3 separate regions of the Homo sapiens genome follow, and all the other regions are linked to region 1. The links are contacts of gene promoters, found by promoter capture Hi-C in human tissues and cell types (Jung and others, 2019). All regions are on one chromosome and are shown on one strand. Each heading gives the region's core, a stretch centred on a gene start or on the middle of the fragment in contact. The rest is flanking DNA. Distances are from core to core; before and after follow the strand shown. Region 1 holds the start of GTSF1L (gametocyte specific factor 1 like). Region 2 holds the start of L3MBTL1 (L3MBTL histone methyl-lysine binding protein 1). Region 3 holds the start of IFT52 (intraflagellar transport 52).

Region 1 (3,023 bases), core at 249-2,748:
GGGCCGAGTAGTTGCAACACAGACTGTGTGGCTGACAAAGGCTAAGATATTTGCCATCTGGCCTTTTACAGAAACAGTTTGCTGACCTCTGAGCTCAACAGTGTGTCTCAACCTTTCTATATCAGCACAGAAAGAGCTTCCTCACTTTTTTTAAGGCGGCATAATATTTTGTTGTATGGCTGCAGTATAACTTATTTTTAATCAGGCCCTTTTAATGGATATTTAGGTCATTTTTGACTTTTTTTTTTGTTGCTTAAGACAGGATCTCACTATGTTGCCCAGGCTGAACTCAAGCGATCCTCTCGCCTCAGCTCCCAGAGTAACAGGCTACAGCTGTGATTCAACACACCTGGCTCATTTCTAACTCTTTTGCTGCTGCAAATAATGCTGCAGTGAATAAGCTAGTACTTAGCTCATTTTCCACATGTGTGATTATATTTACAGAATGAAGCCTGGAAGTGGAATTGCTCAATCAAAGCCTGTATGCATTGATAATGTTTATAGCTATTGTCAAATTGCCCTCTGTGGAGGTTGTACCAACTGACATTCTCACCAATGTTATGAAAGTGCCCATTTTGCCCTACCTTTGCCAGCAGAGTATTTTAAGCCTTTTGATATTTATCAATCTGCCAGGTTAAAAAAAGAGGTAGCCCAGGGTAGTTTACTTTGCATGTCTTTTATTCTGATGCATTGCACGTTCTTCCATGCATTGATGAGGCGTGTGCTCCTTCCTCAGCTGGCAGTTTACTGTCCTGGTCTGAGGATCTTCTGGGGACTGGTCTCTCTTGCTGACTCTTTCGTGTCATTTTCACAAACAACCTTTTGAGGAAAAAAAGTCTTAAGGACAAACACATGCTGGCAATTAGCGCCATCGACATTCCAGATATCGGGGCTGGGAAGGCAGGGTGAGACCTGCTGGGTGTCATCGTTCTGCTCTGAACTAGGAGGACTGACTTTCAGAGGGTTCTCGGTGTCCTCTTCTTCCACAGCGCTCCTGTTGACACAAACAGCCTCATGTTCCTCCAGATTTTTGATGGGGACCACGTGGCAGGCGTTGTATTTGCAGGTGGCCATCTTTTTGGCTTTCTTGGGGTTCTTTCTCCTGCACGATGCCAGGTGGTACTGGAATCTGCTGAGTGGGATTCGGTGGTGAGGATCATAAGGGCAAATTTCAAAGGCTTCTGGCTCCATGAGAAATTCTTGAAGCAGGGTATCTCACTGCTAGAGTCTAACGGAAATGCTTCTTGTGGAGAAGCCCTTTTGTAAGAAGGATGGAGTTGTCCTCTGCCCAGTTTTGGCCCTTGGGATTCTGTAGGTGACGGTCTTAACTTGTGGTCTGTTCTCTAGGACTGTGAGTGGTGGATTAGAAGAGAGATGAGGAGCTGCCAAAAGCAGCTACACAGAGAACAGAGTTAGCAAATGGCACCCGAGACAGAACTATAGCAGATGCAAGAGCCAAAAACCCACAGCCGCTTGACTCACGGATATACTATGATGTCAAGCTGCAGTCACCGGTGGTCACAATGGGCAGCCTAAGTCATCAGGAAGAGGCTATTGTGCACTGCTTGGGAGGGGTGGATGGCTTTGGGAATGCTGCCATCTAAAATTGCTCATGGATGTATGTTGTGACTTAAGTCTTTTAACTGTACGTATTTGTTTTTTGTTTTTGTTTTTGTTTTATTTGAGACAGAGTCTCGCTCTGTTGCCAGGCTGGAGTACAGTGGTGCGATCTTGGCCCACTGCAATCTCCGCCTCCCAGGTTCAAGTGATTCTCCTGCCTCAGGCTCCCGAGTAGCTGGGATTACAGGCACCTGCCATCATGCCCGGCTAATTTTTTGTATTTTTAGTAGAGACGGGTTTCACCATGTTGGCCAGGCTGGTCTTGAACTCCTGACCTCAGGTGATCCACCCGCCTCAGCCCCCCAAAGTGCTGGGATGATAGGTGTGAGCCCCTGCGCTTTGCCAGGGCTGGTTTTTGGATGTGATTCTCAGGGCCGTCTTTCTTTACCCTTCTGCTCTGCTGAGGCCCACAGCAGCCTAGTCTCCTTGGGTGTGGGGGAAGGGTTTAAATCTATTCATATATCGCAGAAGGTGAAGCCTTTTGGTGTTCAGCTTAACATGGGAAACATTTCCTATAAAACGCCCCATCTTAGGTCGACCCTGCCGTTGTCCCTCACAGAACTGGACCAAAGTCTGAATGGACGCAATTGACACATATCTCAGGGTGTTAGTGGTTTTGGTCCTCTGACATTCTATTTACATGTCTGGTGTTAGGTAGGATTTCTTCTAAAAATTGGCCTGGAGCTCCTTCCCACCCCCCACCCTGTTAAATTGTTTCTCAAGATCTGAGTGACAGTAGAGAAATACCATATTCCTGAATAGGAAGACTCAAAATCATAAATGAATATTCTCTGTAAACTAAATTACATAAATTACATAGTCATCCTAAATTGATACATAAATATAATGCAATTCCAAATAATTTTTGTAGCTTTATGTGCTGATATCTGATAGAGCAAGTCTCTGCTTGTTATTAGTTTTCCCCCCAAAAGCCTTGACTATCTTCAAGGATTTGTTATTCTAGATCATGTGTCAACAAACTATGGGCCCATGATTCAAATCCAGATGGCTATCTGCTTTTGTAAATAAAGTTTTATTGAAGCACAGCCACACCCATTTGTTTATATATTGTCCATTGGCTGCTTTTGAGCTAGATTTGAGTAGTTGCAACAGAATCCAGATGACCTAGAAACCTCTAATGTTTTCTGTCTGGCCCATTATAGAAAAAGCTCACCCATCCTATTCTTGGTGGTGGTTAAGGAAGCTGACTGTATTCAAATTCTACCTCCTGCCACTTACCAGCCATGTGACCTTGGGGAAGGTGTGTGTGTGAGTGTGTGTGTGTGTATGTGTGTGTGTGTGTTTCCTGGTATTTACTAAGCTCTATTGATGGTGTCTTTTCAGGTAGGCTTTGTAGTTTTCTTTCTATTTTTTGCACGTTAAAAAAAAATTAATCTATGATG
Region 2 (3,023 bases), core at 212-2,711, 220 kb before region 1:
GGTTCACCACTTTCTTTTAATCTTCTGAATACCTAAAATAAACCTTTGAAATCTAGATCACGCACAGTCTAGGTTGAGATGAGAGAATACTGAGCGGATGGTTGTGTATGTATCAATGTGTAGAAAAAGGCATCCATCGTTATGGCAACCAGCATCCTTAACTGATGCAATCCTGTTCCCAATAATATGAGATGTGATTAAAAATTGACATTGCAGCAAGGAAGAACACATGCAATGCGTTGGCGTGGCAACCGGAATAGTTAAATTCTGCATAAATTTAAACCTGTCGATCACAGCAATTTGGAGAATTTGCCTACATTTCATTAGGAACCCTTTTCTCATCTGGCCTGGGAGGGAATCAGGAGCCTGGTGGTCTGACATGTGGCCATGACTTAAGGCCAAGTAAAATCAAGGGATTAAATTAAATCATTGGTGTGGGAGAGGGGCTGGATGGTGGACTGTACCAAAAGTTACCCTGTTTTCATCTGCATACCCTACATCATTTAGTCACTCAACAGATATTTATTAAGCACCCACTCTGTGCCCCGCTCTGGGCTAGGTACTAGGAATACAAAAACTAATATTTCCTACCCTCTTGGAGCTTGAAACCTCTTAGCCTCTGGAATTACTCAAATCTATGTGAAGTGCCAGCTGTGGTATGTGTAAGCGAGACAGGTATCTTGTGTTACCAGAACCAATAACAAGGAGATTTGATTAATTAGAGAGATCAGGTGGAGGCGAAGAGATCAGTCAAAGTGAAGCAGAGAGGGGCAGTGATTGCTACACCACCACAGGAACCCAAACTGAAAACGACCATACGCCATGAAGTGGGTGATAGTCTTTACCAATGTCGAAATGGAGGACCTGGGGGATACTGATGTTACCCAGCCCTTCGCAGTGGGGTCACCCAAAAGTAGACGCGGCTAATGCCGCTCTTTATGCCCGGCAGGGCCAGGACCAGAGTCCCCGCACGAGGGTTCCTCTCTCCGGTCGCACGTGCCCTTCACCCTTCCTGAGGCCGTTTTCTGACGCTCCTGAGCTCCCCTCCAGGGTGAGGGCAGGCGCGGTGGGAAGGCGTTGGACAGAGCAGACACTCGGCTGGGGTGCATGCCTGGGTGCAGCCTCGTCTTTTGTCACTAACCACTCAGCTCGGTAGCCCTCCAGGCTCTCTCTTCGAGCTCCGCGGTCCCTGCGCCCCCGCTGCGCTCTGCTAGCTGTGATGCAGGGGTTCGGGGGCAGGAAAAATCTCGACCCGCCACGCCCGTGCGGCAAACCTGTCCTAGGTTGAGGGGGCATGAGGCGCGCACAACCAGGGCCTCGAAGGCAGGCAAGAGGGCGCGGGCGCCACAGAAGCCTGGGCCTGCGCCTGGGCCGGGCAGATGTGCCCGGCGCTCGGGCCCCGCGCTCTGCGTCCTGCAGGGAGGCGGACCCGCCCCCCGAACGCGCAGGCGCGCGGCGCCCGGCTCGGACCGTAGCTAGGCGCTGGGCGGCCACCGGCTGGCCAGGCAGGTAAGCAACCAGCGGTGCGTGGGCTCAGACCTTGCGTCCCCTGGGCGCCGCGCCACCCCGCTCCGTCCAGGGCGGCGAGGGCTCAGGTCTGCGGCCCCGGCGTCTCGCTCCTTCCGAGCGCCTCCGGCGGGGGGCGCGGGCTGGGGAGGAGGTTCGGGAAAACGCCGGGGAAAGCGGTCTGGGCGGAGCGCGCAGGGGGCCAGGCGGGTGCGGGACTCCAGGCCCAGCCGACCCTGCGGCGTGGCTTCGGGCTGCGATCAGGAGGGGCGAGGAGGGTGGAGGCTGCGTGTTTGGAGATACGCAATCAATTAAGAGTTTTTTTATTAATGGAAAGGTGTGGAGGGCGGGGTTTTGGTTTTCTTGGGAAATGAATGAGTCATTTGGCAAACTTTCCTACCATTAATTTTGGATTTTTATAATGGAATATGGAATTTTTTTTGTTTCTCTCTCTTTTTTTTTTTTTGGCCATAAAGAGAAAGAATAAAAAGAATTCCGCCATTTTAGCGTTTTAAAAAGTAACCGTTCTGCGGAACTGTCGGATCAGTGACCGCCCCGCCCGCCTTTGCCTATACCAGTCCCGGGAGGCTGGTGGCGGGTCCCGATCCTGGAACCCTGCGCTCAGGGCCGCTTCCGTCCCCTCCCGAGTCCGGGAAGCAGCTGCGGCGAGGGGCGGGGCCGAGGCCCCAAGTTTGTAGCGCTCAGCCTTGCTGTGTGTTGTTTTCTGGGTAGCTGTCGAGGGCTCTACTCCCCACCCAACACCTATAGTAAGGACATTTATTGGTCGTTTTTGTATACAAGGCCTTGGAAGGCAAGGGATTGAGAAAACCTTGTCAGACATCAAGAGAAAATACCCATGGACACATTCAGCCAACAGATATTTATTGAGCATCTGCTATGTGCACGGCTCTGGGCTGGGGCTACAATGGTTGTTTTAGGTCGGGTCCCCCGAAACAGACTCCGATAGCAAGATTTGAGTGTAGGTTTATCGGAGTGCTCTTGCGAATATCACCAGTAGGGGAATGACGGGTTGGGCGGAAGAAGAAGCTGAACTGCTGATGTAGTCTCAACAGAGGCCTCAGCCTGACCTAATGGAAGCTCTGGAACTGAGATGGCCCTGCAGAGGTGTTCCAAAGTAAGGCAAGGGGGTGGGGTCTTTACACCTCATAGCAACTCGTCATTGGCTGGCGGCTTCTAGGAGAGCCTTCAAGTGAGGTAGCTCCCTAGGCTCAGAGCAGTTCCAAGAGAGGCTGACGGCAGAAGGCTGAAAACTTTCTTCAGTGTCCACCAGAAACCCAGACTCTTCTGAGTCCCCCCTCACTTCATGGCAGACTCCTTCTCAGTCCCTTTTGCTAGACCCTTTTCCTCTTCCCAACCTATAAATGTGGGTGTGCTCCAAAGTTCCCACTTTTTTCTTTATACTCAGTTATGTGGTTTTTTCTTTTTTCTTTCTTTCTCTCTCTCTCCTTCCTTCCTTCCTCCCCTCCCCTCCCCTTTCTCTCTGACAGGGTCTTGCT
Region 3 (3,023 bases), core at 157-2,656, 140 kb before region 1:
GGTGTTACTGTTACCCAGGTCCCAGACTCCTGGCCTCAAGCAGTCCTCCCACCTTGGCCTCCCAAAATGCTGGGATTACAGGCAGAAGCCACTTCATCTGACCAAAGAGAATTCTCAAATCACCCTGTTCTCCACTTTCTTTTTGAGACAAGGTCTCACTGTGTTGCCTAGGCTAGAGTGCGGCGGCACCATGACGGCTCACTGCAGCCTCAACCTCCTAGGATCAATCAATCAATCCTCCCACCTCAGTCTCCCAAGCAGCTGGGACTACAGGCGCGCGCCACCACGCCCAGGTAATTTTTCCTATTTTTAGTAGATACCGGGTTTCGCCATGTTGCCTAGGCTGGCCTCAAACTCCTGGGCTAAAGAGATCCACCTGCCTCGGCCTCCCAAAGTGCTGGGATTACAGGAGAGAGCCGCTGCGCCCGGCCCGTCTCCACTTTTAAAATTTCCAGTGACAGAAATTGTGGAAAGCAACACGAGTTGTATGTGTTTTAATATCCTAGATTCGAAGACAAACATAAATGTAAATAAAAACTGTCAGAGCTCTCTGCAATCTTCAGTTTGGGTCTTCCAGGCTGCTGCAGCGTTGTTCACAAATCCACACACCTCTAAAGGCAGGCACAGAGCGCTTTCCTGGGTAGTCGGGTGGCCTGTTGGTAGTTGCAGGCTTCTGGTTTCCCATCTTAATGGCGATGGCAGGGCAACCTGTATTGGTGGTGCTTTTGCACAAGCAGTTCTTTCTGCCGGGAACGCCCTTCCCCAGCCTTTGCCTTAATGAATACCACTCTCTCTTCAAATCTCTGCTCAACAGGGGCGCCTTTTTGACCAGCTTAGTCGTTAGACTCCCTAATACAGTTCATAGTTTTCACATTTTTGTAGAATCTATTCAAGTTCTAACTCCCCGCCATGCTCGCCGGCGCTCAAGCCTAGTACCATGGCAAGCAAAGATGCGGAGTTAATAAAACAGAATTATACGGTTTATCATTCTCAACACTAAACCTGCGCACCCTTTTCCGTTAAGTAGTTCCTAATAGTCCAGCACAGCCTTCCGCCCGGCCCCGCCCTCGCCTGGCTCCACTCTGCTCCTGCGCTTTGGGAATCGAAGCTGGGGCGTTCTCCAACCCCCCCGCGCTGGAAGCCTTCACTATTCTCCTCCCTGTGGGTGGAGCGAAGTTTGGGCACTTGGGTCCTACCGTTGTTATTAGTCTTTACTCGTAATTGATACTAAAGAACAAAATTAAATGGGTTTATTTTTGGTGAAAAGTTAATTCTCCTTATGTTTGGATTTGCCCCTCATGCACCAAATGGTACAGCCCCACATCAGTCAGGCTGCCTACCCCTGACGCCTGCGACGGAGAGGCGCCTTCCGTGCTGTCGTCATCACGTCGGCCGGAGCTAGCGCTGCGTCCTGGGCCACGCCTCCCGGCGCACCGACGCGCCTCTCCGGTTACTAAGCGGCCTTGGATACCTGGCCGCGGGATGCTGGGCGGCGTCAGGTGAGCGGTGGTCGCTGGGCCTCAGGTAAAGGGCGCCAACAGTGGTGGGCCGGCTGGGGCGTTGGTGCGGCCTGGGAGCTGGCGAGGGACTCGCCGCACTCTTCGAGGCCGCTGGGCCGGTCATAGAACATCCAGGGTCCCCCGGGGTGAAGTAAACTGTGGGCGCGGACGTAGCCCGGGTTCCTGGCGCCCCGGCTGGGCGCCCATCTCCACGGCCTCGGGTGGTGCAGGTGTTTAGTCGTTCCGCTGACTATGAAAGAGCATGGGACGAGGAATCGTACAGTCTTAATCTCTCTTCTGTCGTGGCTGCGACCCCTCGGTATTCATGTGGGAAAATACTGATTTGACTGGTAATGTTATTGAAGAGAAAGCGAGAGAATGGTTTGGCAGCGTTACCCAAATATTTGTTATTTTTATAGTTTTAAAGGCCTTATACTATTATTAAGGAAATGCATTTCTGGCTAAGTCTGACAGTACAGGAACGCAGACCTGCTACTCTCACCAGGGGCTGAACTAACAGAACAAAAAAAGATAGATGTATCACGGTGGTGGGACCATGGAGGGGGCAGTTTTTCAACTGGACAAAATGATGTTAAAGTGCTTAAAGAAGGATAAATATGTGAAAGTAGCCAGGAAAATTCTAAAATTAATGCTAATAAGGGAGATTAGCTCTCCAGAACCACCAGATATTATAACATAAAGGTATAGCAATTAAACTAGCATAGAAGATGGGTGCAGCAGTGTGGGCCCGTAGTCCTGGCTACTTGGTAGGCTGAGGCGGCAGGATCCCTTGAGCCCAGGAGTCAGAGACCAGCATGGGTATCAAAAGGAAACCCTGTCTCTGAAAATAAATAAATTAATTTAAAAAGTTTGGGACTCAGCAGGAGCTTACAGGTAGATAAAATATATTAGAACTCAGAATAAGAGCGATTTATATATAGGGATTTATTATATAGGCGAGGTGGTACTGTATTTCAAATCAGCATTGAAGAGATGAATTGGGGTCAGGCAGCTTTTTTAGCAATTTAGAAAATAATTAAACCAGTCGAGCGAGGTGGCTCACACCTGTAATCCCAGCACTTTGGGAGGCCAAAGCGGGTGGATCACTTGAGGTCAGGAGTTCCAGACCAGCCTGGCCAACCTGGTGAAACACCGTCTCTACTATGGCGCGCGCCTGTAATCCCAGCTACTGGGGAGGCTGAGGCAGGAGAATTGCTTGAACTTGGGAGGCGGAGGTTGCAGCGAGCCGAGATTGCACCACTGCACTCCAGCCTGGGTGACAGAGCAAGACTATGCTTTGAAAAAGAAGGAAAAAAAAAAGGAATGAAGCCCATTTTGAGCACCACAATAATTTCCAAATGGACTAAAATTTAAATGTTAAAAAATTACATCACGAATTAGCCGGGTGTGTTTGGGCGCCTGTAGTCCCAGCCGCTTGGGAGGCTGAGGCACGAGAATCTCTTGAATCTGGGAGGCAGAGGTTGTGGTGAGCCGAGATCGTGCCACTGCACTCCAGCTTAGGCC

The links. Contacts are between HindIII fragments. The study calls those that stand out against the background at their distance.
Region 2: the fragment with the promoter of L3MBTL1 here is called in contact with the fragment with the promoter of GTSF1L in region 1 in 3 of the 25 tissues and cell types used here (IMR-90 fibroblasts, lymphoblastoid cells and small bowel).
Region 3: the fragment with the promoter of IFT52 here is called in contact with the fragment with the promoter of GTSF1L in region 1 in 1 of the 25 tissues and cell types used here (lymphoblastoid cells).

Annotation. Positions count from the first base shown.
Region 1 is chr20:43,725,504-43,728,526 of GRCh38, forward strand. GTSF1L (gametocyte specific factor 1 like) reads right to left here and starts at 1,499. Exons shown (of 1, transcript NM_176791.4): 1 at 661-1,499. The coding sequence starts at 1,191. The coding sequence ends at 745. The HindIII fragment of the contact is 17,400 bases long and covers 1-3,023 here.
Region 2 is chr20:43,506,236-43,509,258 of GRCh38, forward strand. It overlaps L3MBTL1 (L3MBTL histone methyl-lysine binding protein 1), which reads left to right and starts at 1,462. Exons shown (of 22, transcript NM_001377303.1): 1 at 1,462-1,509. RefSeq lists a silencer at 1,343-1,672. The HindIII fragment of the contact is 9,495 bases long and covers 1-3,023 here.
Region 3 is chr20:43,589,531-43,592,553 of GRCh38, forward strand. IFT52 (intraflagellar transport 52) reads left to right here and starts at 1,407. Exons shown (of 14, transcript NM_016004.5): 1 at 1,407-1,524. RefSeq lists an enhancer at 1,529-1,598. The HindIII fragment of the contact is 21,857 bases long and covers 1-3,023 here.